2 separate regions of the Homo sapiens genome follow, and region 2 is linked to region 1. Evidence: promoter capture Hi-C in 16 types of primary human blood cells and fetal thymus (Javierre and others, 2016). All regions are on one chromosome and are shown on one strand. Each heading gives the region's core, a stretch centred on a gene start or on the middle of the fragment in contact. The rest is flanking DNA. Distances are from core to core; before and after follow the strand shown.

Region 1 (5,987 bases), core at 934-3,433:
CTCAGACCTGTAATCCCAGCATTTGGGGAGGCTGGGGCAGGCAGATCACTTTTGAGCTCAGGAGTTCCAGACCAGCCTGGGCAACATAGCAAAACCCTGTCTCTACTAAAAATACAAAAATTACCCAGGCATGGTAGCAGCAGCCTGTAATCCCAGCTACTCGGGAGGCTGAGGCAGGAGAATCGCTTGAACCTGGGAGGCGGAGGTTGCAGTGAGCCGAGATCGAGTCCCTGCACTCCATCCTGGGCCACAGAGCTACACTGTCTCAAAAAAAAAAAAAATTGTACAGATATATATACACACACACACATATAGAAAAATTATATAATTTTTCCTCCTCTCTCTATATACATATATATATAGATATATGTATACACACACACACACACACACAGAGGAAGGTATAGGTGTCAAACCTTTTTTTTTTTTTTTGAGACAGATTCTTGCTCTGTGGCCCAGGCTAGAGTGCAGTGGTGCGATCTTGGCTCACTGCAACCTCTGCCTCCCGGGTTCAAGGGATTCTCCTGCCTCAGCCTCCCGAGTAGCTGGGATTACAGGTGTGTGGCACCACATCCGTCTAATTTTTGTATTTTTAGTAGAGACAGGGTTTCACCATGTTGGCCAGACTGGTCTTGAACTCCTGACCTCAAGTGATCTGCCCGACGTGGCCTCTTAAAGTGCTAGGATTACAGGCGTGAGCCACTGAGCCCAGCCTAAATTCAATTATTAAACTCCTTGAGTTAATTAAAGGGTAGCCAGGTGCGGTGGCTCATGCCTGTAATCCCAGCACTTTCAGAGGCCGAGGCAGGAGGATCGCTTGAGCCCAGGAGTTCCAGACCAGCCTGGACAACATAGCGAGATCCTGACTCTACAAAAAACAGAAAAATTAGCCGGGCGTGGTGGCGCGTGTTTGTAGTCCCAGACACTCCTGAGGTTGAGGTGGGAGGATCACCTGAGCCCTCGGGAGGTCGAAGCTGCAGTGAGCGGAGATCGCACCGCTGCACTCCAGCCTGGGGGACAGTGAGGCGGTCTCAAAACAAAACAAAAACAAAAGGGGAGGGCGGGGGGAAGACTTAAAGACCCCTGAGCCAGGGCCATTATTATTTAACTTGGTCGGGTCTCTGAACCATTCGGAGGAAGCTTGGGTTTCTATCCTTCCCGACTGAGCCACAGACCTGAGTCTTGACTCCGGATAAATCACCCCAGACTGTTTTTCTGTCTGTGACACGGGAACGGCAGCTTCTGCCTCGCGAGGTGGAGAGAGAATGAGAAGCGCCGTGTGTGGCGCGCCTGACACGGTCAGCTCGCGGGTGGAGGCCCGGAGCAGAACGCCCTCGGGCGCCCGCTCTTGCAGCCGCACTGGAGACCGGGAATGGCTCCGGCCACGCCTCTGCCGACTGCGGCAACGCGAGGGACAGCTGGTCTCCGGGGTTGCAGCGTAACGCCCTCCTTCCCGGCCTCATCTTTCCTGACTGCATAACGGGCATACAGTGGGTTCCATGGCGCAAGGGAGCTGAAGAAGCCGCCCGCCCCCAGCTCGCCCGGGATCCTCACGCCCCTATAACGCCCCGAGGGGCCACGATGCTGCCCACAGCCCAGATCGCGAGTGCGGACCCTGCGGGAGGGTCTGGCCTAGATGCGAGTTTCCCGCCGCAGACCAGGCGAGGCCACGCGACATATCCCCTACCCGCTTACTGCAGGCCGCAGACGGAGACAGTGCAGCCCTGCGCACTGCTGAGGTTGCCCGAGGTCTCAGCCTCGGCGGGTCGGGAACACGCGGCGCGCGCCCGCGCCCCAACCGGAAGTCCGCCACCGGCCGCTCTAGCACGCGCAGGGCTGCGTCTGTGGCCTTAACCCTTCCCAAGGCTGCGCCGCCGGCCTTTGTCTCCGCGGAGCGTCACAAAGGTTGGAAGGGTCGCGGGGCCTCTGGGTGCCGAGCTGCAGATGCCTCCACTGCGAGCACAGCCCTGAGACAAGGGCCCAGGCGCCCAGCGGGGCTGGTTTCACTCAGTCCAGCCGCACCTACCCGTGCCCTCACCAGATCTTAAGATACAGACATTAAAACCTCCACCGGGCCGCGGCACAGGACAGCAGTTTTACTTTCTGTTTTTGGCATTGCATTGCCTCCATTTCCTAGAGTGCACGTAATAAATACCGCTGGTGATTCCAAAATATAAAGGTTGAAAATATTTACTTTACAAAAATTTGGTTCCCATACTGCTTTTAAGGCCATCCTCTGCACTTGGTTCCCGCTGCTCCTGATGTGGTTGAAAGATGGATGACCCCAAAGACGAGGAAAAGATTATTGGCTCCATTTTTTAGATGCGGCAGCCAGCTAAGGTCTAGACAGGGGAAGGGACTTGCCCCAAATCACAGTTAGAGCAAATCAGTCTGAATCAGGAATAACTCCATTCCTATCCCGCATCCTGCCCTTTCACTACGCCACAGCTGCCTGGCTGCCTGGAGGAACAAAGGAGGGCCGGGCAAGAACGCCATTACCAACTGCAAATCCACAGGCAAATGCAAGAGGACAGAAAGTAAGTTCTTGGGCTCTGCCCTTGTGCCGTACCCGGAGGGGTTCTGGGGTCACCAGCCAGGTGCATCCCTGCCTTCACAGCCATGCACAGCGACACCCAGTTAACTAATGGGGGGGATTATGCCACTTGCTGGGTATGCCTGTGCCACCAGTGCACTCACTCTGTGCCTGGGGAAATAACCACGGATGAATCTGGGGATCCCCTGGGCCCACTGTGAAATGGACCTGAGCTAAAACTCCATTGATCACAGGACCTCAGGGATCTTTTGGGTCTCGAGAACAGAATTGGATGCTACAGGAGAAATGTAACCAGAAAAGGATTAGGATTTTGCCAGTAGAGAAAGGGAGATGTGCTTGCTTTCATTCATTTATCATTAATGAGCACCTACTGTATGCCAGGCACCACACTAGGCCCTAGGAAGACAGAGATTATGAGACAGATGTGGCCTTATTCTAGCAGGGGAAGTGAGATGAAGGAGGTGAGAAAGAGGAAGTATAGTGACTAACCAGGGACCTGACCTAGTTTGAAGGTCAGGGAACCTTGGAGGAGGTGAAATCAAACCCAAAGCCTGAGATAAGAGAGAGAAGGGGAGGGTGGAGGGAAGGAAAGGGCTTCACAGACAGAGGGAACGGGAGTGCTAACAGCCTGGCCAGCTTCCTTGTGGTAGAAGTTCTATGCATGAGTTGGAAGAAAGCTTGGGGAAAGGGGCAGGAGAGGTGGGCAGGGGCCAAATCCAGCAGGGGCTTTTCTACCATAAGGAACTTGGTGGGAGAACTCCATGGGCAAAAACAGGTGTGGAAGGGACCAAGAAGCCCATGTGGCTGGAGGGCAGGACATGAGATGAAGATGACTAGAGCAGGGAGTGAGGAGGTGGAGAAGGTGAGCAGAGGCCAAGGCTGGGAGGCCTGAAATGCCTGGCCGCAAAACTCAGCCATTAGCCTGGAGGCCATGCAAGTGAACAGCAAGGAGGAGAGTGGAACACCAGGGAGCGGTAGGGATTGCGGGGACTGAAGGGCAGAGACTCCGCCCCCAGGGCAGTCAGTGTTCTGCACCCCCTACCCCCCTACCCCACCAACCTCCGCCCCATGACCACTCCAGGAGGCAAACTCAGTATCTCAGAATATCTGCTTTCAAGGGTAGCTGGAGTCCAGATTTCTTTTTTTATTTTTGGTAGAGACAGGATCTTGCTCTGTCGCGCAGGTTGAAGGGTAGCAACACATAGCTCACTGTAGCCTCAACTCCTAGGCTCAAGCAGTCCTCCTGCCTCAGCCTCCCAAAGTGCTGGGGTTACAGTGTGAGGCACGTCACCCGGCCTGAGTCCAGATTTTTTTTTTTTTTTTGAGACGGAGTCTCGCTCTTTCACCAGGCCCGAGTGCAGTGGCACTATCTCGGCTCACTGCAAGCTCCGCCTCCTGGGTTCAGGCCATTCTCCTGCCTCAGCCTCCCGAGTAGCTGGGACTACAGGCACCCGCCACCGCGCCCAGCTAATTTGTTGTATTTTTAGTAGAGATGGGGTTTCACCGTGTTAGCCAGGATGGTCTCGATCTCCTGACCTCGTGATCCACCCGCCTCGGCCTCCCAAAGTGCTGGGATTACAGGCGTGAGCCACCGCGCCCAGCCTAGTCCAGATTTTTATATGAAATCACTTGATTTTAATGTTGCCAACATGTTCAACACCATGTAAGCCAAACAAATCACATTCACAGGCTCACAGCTCCAAGCTTTGCAGCATGTTAGCATCACCTGAGGAGCTTGTAAAAATCCCAGGGCCCTTGGCCGGGCGCAGTGGCTGATGCCTGTAATCTCAGCACTTTGGGAGGCCAAGGCGGGTGGATCACCTGAGGTCAGGAGTTCGAGACCAGCCTGGACAACATGGTGAAACCCCATCTCTACTAAAAATACAAAAATTAGCCGGGTGTGGTGGCAGGCACCTGTAATCCCAGCTACTTGGGAGGCTGAGGCACGAGAATGGCTTGAACCTGGGAGGCGGAGGTTGCAGTGACCCAAGATCATGCCACTGCACTGCAGCCTGGGCGATAGAGCTAAACTCAAGACTCAAAAAAACAAAACAAAACAAAAAATCCCAGGGCCCAGGTTGCACATGATACCAATGTAAAATGTCTGGGGTGGGGCCGGGTGTGGTGGCTCATGCCTGTAATCCCAGCACTTTGGGAGGCCGAGGGAGACGGATCACAAGGTCAGGAGATTGAGACCATCCTGGCTAACACGGTGAAACCCCGTCTCTACTAAAAATAAAAAAATTTAAAAAAATTAGCTGGGTGTGGTGGCACGCGCCTGTAGTCCCAGCTACTCGGGAGGCTGAGGCAGGAGAATCACTTGAACCCAGGAGGCAGAGGTTGCAATGAGCCGAGATCGTGCCACTGCACTCCAGCCTGGGCGACAGAGCGAGACTCTATTTCAAAAAAAACAAAAATGTCTGGGGTGGCTGGGCGTGGTGGCTCACGCCTGTAATCCTGGCACTCTGGGAGGCCGAGGTGGGTGGATCACGAGGTCAGGAGCTTGAGACCAGCCTGACCAACATGGTGAAACCCAGTCTCTACTAAAAATACAAAAATTAGCTGGGCGTGGTGGCACGCACCTGTAATCCCAGCTACTCAGGAGGCTGAGGCAGAAGAATCACTTGAACCCGGGAGGCAGAGGTTGCAGTGAGCTGAGATCGTGCCACTGCACTCCAGCCTGGGTGACAAAGCGAGACTCCGTCTCAAAAAAAAAAAAAAAAATGTCAAGGGTAGAAGGCAGCCATCAGAATATTTAAATGATTCCCCAGGTGATTCCAGTATGCACACTACCAGAGACTACGTGCTTTCAGTTGCCAGGCTCAGCCATGGGGAGCCATGGGAAGTTTTAGAACAGGAGAGGAGCCCAGTTTAGAGTTTAAGGAAAATCATTCTGTAGGAGGAACAGAATGTAATCTTGTGTGAAAAGGGTCCGGAAGCCCCAAGGGCAGTGGCAGGATCCTGCTAGGGTGATGGTGATCAGCCATCCCAGTTTGCTCAAGACTGGGGTGTCTCCTGGGACATGGAACCTGCAGTGCTAAAACCAAGAAAGTCCTGGGCAAACAGGGATGCTTGGTCATGCTAGATTCTCCTGATGTAGTTCTGTTTTCCCAGATTTTTGGGGAGACTGATGCCACAGACTTCGCATTCTAGAAATTCCTAAGAAAAGGCTGTCCATCTCCCTGTGGTGCATTCACCTGAGTCTCTGAGCCCTGGCAGGGCCCATCTCTTCTCCACCCAGCAGAGTGATCCTGGCCTATGGAATATAATTTAGCAGTAAAAAGGAACAAACTACTGATTCACACAATAATCCGGATGACCCTCAAGAATATTAGCCTGAGTAAAAGAAAACAGATGCAAAAGAGTTACATACTGCTTAATTCTATTTACATGAAGTTCCAGAACAGGTTCACCCAATCCGTTACTTTAAAAC
Region 2 (6,175 bases), core at 3,667-6,166, 220 kb before region 1:
CATCTTAAAAAGCCTTAAGGGGCCGGGCACGCCCATGCCTAATGCCAGCACTTTAGGAGGCCAAGGCAGGAGAATCGCTTGAGCCCAGGAGTTTGAGGCCAGCCTGGGCAACCACATCACTGTGACCATATCTCTACAAAACGTTTTGTTTATTTATTTGTTTGTTTTTGAGATGGAGTTTTTGCTCTGTTGCCCAGGCTGGAGTGCAATGGTGCGATCTCAGCTCACTGCAACCTCTGCCTCCTGGGTTCAAGTGATTCTCCTGCCTCAGCCTCCCGAGTAGCTGGGATTACAGGCATCCGCCACAATGCCCGGCTAGTTTTTGTATGTTTAGTAGAGACGAGGTTTCACCACGTTGGCCAGGCTCTTGAACTCCTGACCTCAGGTGATCCACCCACCTCGGCCTCCCAAAGTGCTGGGATTACAGGCGAGAGCCACCATGCTCAGACAAGATATTGTTTTAAATTAGTTGGATGTGGTGGTCCATGCATGTAGTTCTAGCCACTTGGGAGGCTGAGGTGGGAGGACTGCCTGAGCCTGGGAGTTCAAGGCTGCAGTGAGCTGAGATTGTGCCCCTGCACTCCAGCCTGGGCCACAGAGCAAGGCTCTGTCTCAAAAAAAAAAAAAAAGAAGAAGCCTTAAGGGATAGGGGAGTTGCTGGCTCAGGTGGGATACCTGGAAGTTCCCCTAGCCTTTACCTTGCCCTTCACCCCAGAGCTGAGCCCATGAGGATAGTTCGCCAGCCAACGCCTCCACCTGGGGACCTAGAACCCCCATTCCAGCCATCTGCTCTGCCTGCAGACCCTCTGGAGAGCCCACCAACAGGTAAGGACTTGGGTAGAGATCGGATGAGACTTGGGTGTCTGGGACATCCTAGTTGAGCTTGGAAGTGTCAGGTACAGAGTTGGGGATAGGGCTTAAGCCACCTCCCAGGGCAGGGCTTGGTATATAAAGATGGGATGTTGATGTCAGAGGCTTGAAGTTCAATTCTTAAATGCAGAACTTAGTGTTTTAAGGGTGGGCTAATTCCCCTGTGCACAAAGTTGAGCATGTGGGGAGGGGCTGAGACACTGCAGCCAAGGAATATCCACCTGTGACCCTCTCCTTTCCTCAGCCCCAGATCCTGCTCTGGAGCTCCCATCCACCCCACCACCGTCCAGCCTTTTACGCCCCCGCCTCAGTCCCTGGGGCTTGGCCCCGCTCTTCCGTTCCGTCCGCTCCAAGCTGGAGAGCTTTGCTGACATCTTCCTCACGCCCAACAAAACCCCACAGCCCCCACCCCCGTCCCCCCCAATGAAGCTGGAGTTGAAGATCGCCATCTCAGAGGCCGAGCAGTCTGGGGCTGCTGAGGGCACTGCGTCTGTCAGCCCCCGGCCCCCAATCCGCCAGTGGCGAACTCAGGACCACAATACCCCAGCACTTCTCCCTAAGCCCTCTCTGGGCCGAAGCTACTCCTGCCCTGATCTGGGGCCCCCTGGCCCAGGTACCTGCACCTGGCCACCTGCTCCACCCCAACCAAGCCGACCACGGCCGCGGCGGCACACTGTGGGTGGTGGGGAAATGGCCCGAGCCCCGCCACCCCCTCGGCCCTGTCTCCGGAAAGAGGTCTTCCCTCTCGGAGGAGTGGGAGCCTCCCCTTCTCTCACCACATCTTGCTCGTCCACGGCATCCACTTCCTTCTCCGAACCAGCAGAACCCAGGTAGTGCTCTCAAAAAACCCCCTTGAAGCCTGGCTGCAGCCTGGTCCCAGCCTCCTTCCCTGAGTATCCAGTGGGCAGGAGACGGGGGATAATGCAGTGAATCCTGTTTGTCCCTGAGCCTTGACCTTCTTGGCAGGTTGGGTTCAACCAAAGGGAAGGAGCCAAGAGCCTCAAAGGACCAGGTGCTTTCAGAACCTGAGACCAAGGTAGGCATTCAGATCGGGTAGAAGAGACTAGTGGGGGCCTGAGCCCATGTCACTCTTTCACCCTCTGCCCCATTTTTGCAGACCATGGGAAAGGTTTCTCGATTCAGAATACGCAGAACACCAGCCCGTCCTCAGCTAAACCTTACACCAATGGGACTGCCTCGACCAATCAGGTGAGGGGCTCACTGGGCATTGAGCCATCTTGGCCAAACAGATGCAGGCTTATGTCCCCTGAAGTATAGCTTTGTCTCCCCTCAGGGAGCACAGTCCAGCCTGAAAGATTCAATTCGGTGTGGGGATGGTTTGTGCTCAAAATTGCCTGTCTGCCTTATGTAGCACTCCTGGCCCTGACATGTCCCAGAAACTGAAATACAGACCAGGCCTTACCTGTCCCTTCAGGCCCCACTGGCCCAAGGTTTCTCAGTGGCCTCTGCTCTTTGCTCACAGGTTGAACAAGAAGGAGTTCAGCTTGGAAGAAATTTACACCAACAAGAATTACCAATCACCCACAACCAGGAGGTGAGACACTTGGAAGGCTAGAGGGTGGCAGAGGGAAATCTGGAGCTGTGGAGCACCCTGATAAAACCAGCTCCTCTCCCTGCCTTGTTCAGGACCTTTGAGACCATCTTTGAGGAACCCCGGGAGCGCAATGGGACTCTGATTTTCACCAGCTCAAGGAAGCTCCGGCGGGCTGTGGAATTTCGGGACAGCAGCCTTCCTCGATCACGAAGACCGTCCCGTGGGGTCCGGGCTGCAGGGGGCAGGACTGTTCCTCCCAATGTGGCCCCCAGCCCTGATGTGGGCCCCCTGCTCCAGCAGCGGCTGGAGGAGCTAGATGCCTTGCTCCTGGAGGAAGAAACAGTAGATCGGGAGCAGCCCCACTGGACCTAGGTGCCCCATCTGTTGGTCATCCATCCTGAAGGGACAGGAAACCTCCCAGGCAGTTATTTTTTTTTCTCTATATTTCTAGTAAAGTTTTCGATATGTTTCTGATTCTTTTGTATCTCTAGCTGAGTTTAAGATTGATTTGGCTGATGTTTCTACGTTGACCCCCAAAGGTCTGGGAACTGGGGCTGGTGCTAGAGATGGTGACAGGGGTTGGGTACAGAGTACAGGGAGGGGGTGAAGTGGTCACTTGAGATAGATAGATAGATAGATAGATAGATAGATAGATAGATAGATGATAGATATAGATGGAGTTCCGCTCATGTCACTCAGGCTGGAGTACAATGGCACGATCTTGGCTCACTGCAACCTCTGTCTCCCTCATTCAAGCGATTCTCCTGCCTCAGCCTCCCAAGTATCTGGGATTACAGGCGTGCGCTACCACACCCGCTAATTTTTGTATTTTTAGTAGAAACTGGGCTTCACCATGTTGGCCAGGATGGTCTTGAACATCTGACCTCAGGAAATCCGCCTGCTTTGGCCTCCCTAAGTGCTGGGATTACAGGCATGAGCCACCATGCCCGGCCTAGAGATACTCTCTTGCTTAGAGGATTCTCCTGTGTGGAGGGACACTTCTGAATCAGTGCCAGATGATACTGTGACCCTAGACCGTGGTCTGGGTTCTCCCAATTCATTTATATCAAGGAGACTGAAAGGCCTATAGTGGGTCAAGGCCTTGAAGATCAAGATGGCCCTGAATTCCTGCTAACATGCAGGCCAGGACCTGCTGCTGGATTCAAGAGCTACGGCTAGGCCAGGTGCGGTGGCTTACGCCTGTAATCCCAGCGCTTTGGGAGGCCGAGGCAGGTGGATCACAGGAGCCTAGGAGTTCGAGACCAGCTTGGCCAACATGGTGAAACCCCGTCTCCACTAAAAATACAAATATTAGCTGGGTGTCTTGGTGTGTACCTGTAATCCCAGCTACTCAGGAGGCTGAGCCAGGAGAATTCACTTGAACCCGAGAGGCAGAGGTTGTAATGAGCTGAGATCGCACCACTGCACTCCAGCTTAGGGAACACAGCCAGACTCTGTCCCCCCCAAAAAAACAAAACAAAACAAAGAGCTAAGAGTAATGGGCCATAATGAAGCACTCACGACGACTGTCATAGGTGCTTGACCTGCACATGTCCCTGCGACAGGGAATTAGTCATTTTATGGACGAGAAAGCAAGGCAGGCATGTCAGCGCGCTGTCCACTTTTAAAACGGTAACCCGGGCAACCGAAGGCCAGAAATGGCTGTCTCTTTTTTTTTAAGCCAGTCACATTGAGCAGTGGGGTGCATCTTTCATAACTGAGAGGCATCACAGGGCAGTGGCTGACATAGACGTGGCTAGGAGACTACCAGCCCGTCTGTGCGCGCATTCCTTTCCGTCCCAGTAAAATGGGGCTGACAGCATCTCCTTCATGGAATTATTACCAAACGCAGTCACAAACGCGGAGAAGCGCTCATGCAGGTGCAAGGCGTTTTCGAATTGCTAGCACTCGGGACCGCTGCCAGCAGCCGCGCCTGGAAGGGACGCGGCTGCCTGTTAGTGCGGCCGGCGCAGGCGCAGGCACAGCACGCGGCCGCTCGGGCCACCCCGGGCCGCGGAACGACTCGCAAGCAGCCAGCCTGACGGCGGCGCCGCCACGCGCGTGCGCGAGACGCCAGGCTGTCTGTGGGCCGCGCCGAGCGGCGGAAAGGCGGCGATGACTTAACTGGCTGTGGAACGGAACCTCTTGCAGCCGCGCGCCCCCCGGCGGCCAACCGCCCCCAACGCCTCAGGCCCCGCGTCTCCGCCCCTCGCCTCGACGCCATCAGGAGACCGGCCAATAAACAAACAGCAGGAAGAGGCGGGGCCCTGTAGTAACCGCCCCAAACACCTACTTCTAACCAGTCGAGTCACAAGACTGGGGGGAAGGGCGGAGCCAATCCGACGTAACCCAATCCAAGATTTGAGGGCGGTTACATGCACCCACTCCCTCGGGTTTGGCTCCGCCCCTCACCTTGACGTAGCCCTCCCAGCCTATCAACGACTGCGCCCGTTGGGGGTGAGGGGAAGGGGGCGGAGCGTGGGAGGAGGCCGAGAGAGGAAGGAGGCGTAGGCTGAGGAGGAAGAGGGAGGAGGGGTAGGGAAGTCCTGGCGGAGAAGCGCCCTAAGACTCCAAAGGAGACAACAGGAGTTTGTGCTGGAGCTCCCCCGCTGCCCATCGGCCGTTCCGGATCCCCTAAGGCCCAAGTCGGACAGAGACGGAGGAAAGGAGGAAGAGACTTTTATGTCGGCGGACAGGGGAGCTGTACCCGTCACCGTTGCCTCACATCCGGGGCTTTGGAGGGCTGGCCTCGCTGCCCCGCCCCGCCTCGCGCCTTTCATGGCGACCGGAGGCGGAGGCTGGAGGAGCTGGGCCCGGAGGAGGCCCCTTTAAATCTCCTTAAAGGGGTGGCCACTGAACTCGGCGGACTGCAACGCCAGCCTTAAAGGGGAAGCCGCCGAGCAGACGCTGACAAATTGAGAACTGTGCCGTTGGGAGAACTGGGGCGAGTGGGGTTTTTCTTTACGTCCTCCTCCCCCACACACAAGAAGTCTTTTAAATTCAACTTAAAGGGGAAGTGGCCGCTTGTGGAGGACTAGAAACTAACTCCGAGCCCTTAAAGGGACGGCCTGCTGTTAGAAGGACCCTGGACTCCTTAAAGGGGTGGCCTCTTTGAGCCGGAGGACTTGAGACACTTTTAAAGGGGAGGTCTGCGTTTCGGGGCGAGCTTTCGGCCCCTTTTAAAGGGGTGGCCCTTCCTCTTCCTCGGGGAGACTTGCATCGACCCCTGGCAGGGGGTGGCCACCGCACTAGGCCGCCGGACACTGTCGGGTCGTCTTAAAGGGGCCGGGAGCTGGACAACTTGGGGCCTCGCCTTAAAGGGACGGCCGCCCCGTTTTCGCCGTCGCGGCCCCGCCGAGCCCGCAGGGGGGGCCCTCGGGCTTGTCGCCCCGGGGGCGGCGCCGGCTCCCCGGGCCGTGGCCTTGGGGCAAGCTCGGGGCCAGCAGATCCGGCTTTAAAGGAGAAGCCGTGGCCCTCTCGTCACTGTGCAGCCGCCAGCGCCGCGCCTGCGACCCCGGGCCTGCGGACAGGCCGCTTCGGGCCCCGCCGCCTCCGGATGCGGCGCTGAGGGCGGTCGCCATGGAGACGGCAGCGGCCGCGGCCCCGGGTCCGGGCTGGGCAGCAGAGGGGGAGCGCCGACGGCGGCGCTGCTCGCGCCGAGACCGAGACCGGGAGCAGCGGCGCCGCCGAGGTCCAGGCGGCGACGCGCCCCGGGCCCTGTTGGCCGCCCCGCGCGGCTCCTCGTCCTCG

What was found. The method cuts DNA at HindIII sites, captures the fragments that hold promoters and counts their contacts. A CHiCAGO score of 5 or more calls a contact.
Region 2: a contact is called between the fragment with the promoter of FBRS here and a fragment that was not itself captured in region 1, in 2 of 17 cell types (fetal thymus and M0 macrophages). The highest score is 5.1, in fetal thymus.

What each region holds. Positions count from the first base shown.
Region 1 is chr16:30,873,582-30,879,568 of GRCh38, forward strand. MIR4519 (microRNA 4519) reads right to left here and starts at 1,742; the gene lies at 1,685-1,742. It overlaps MIR762HG (MIR762 host gene), which reads left to right and starts at 1,879. Exons shown (of 3, transcript NR_110942.1): 1 at 1,879-1,905; 2 at 2,449-2,537. It also overlaps a transcript of BCL7C not described here. RefSeq lists enhancers at 407-1,162, 1,163-1,917, 1,452-1,711, 1,918-2,672, 1,982-2,191 and 1 more and a silencer at 2,592-2,651. The HindIII fragment of the contact is 2,091 bases long and covers 1,139-3,229 here.
Region 2 is chr16:30,653,515-30,659,689 of GRCh38, forward strand. It overlaps FBRS (fibrosin), which reads left to right and starts at 4,917. Exons shown (of 18, transcript NM_001105079.3): 1 at 4,917-6,175. The coding sequence starts at 6,005. It overlaps PRR14 (proline rich 14), which reads left to right. Exons shown (of 12, transcript NM_024031.5): 7 at 716-825; 8 at 1,115-1,700; 9 at 1,837-1,906; 10 at 1,988-2,079; 11 at 2,354-2,425; 12 at 2,518-2,899. The coding sequence ends at 2,797. RefSeq lists silencers at 4,333-4,592, 4,623-4,702, 4,753-4,932, 5,753-5,982, 6,053-6,102 and an enhancer at 5,183-5,632. The HindIII fragment of the contact is 16,259 bases long and covers 1-6,175 here.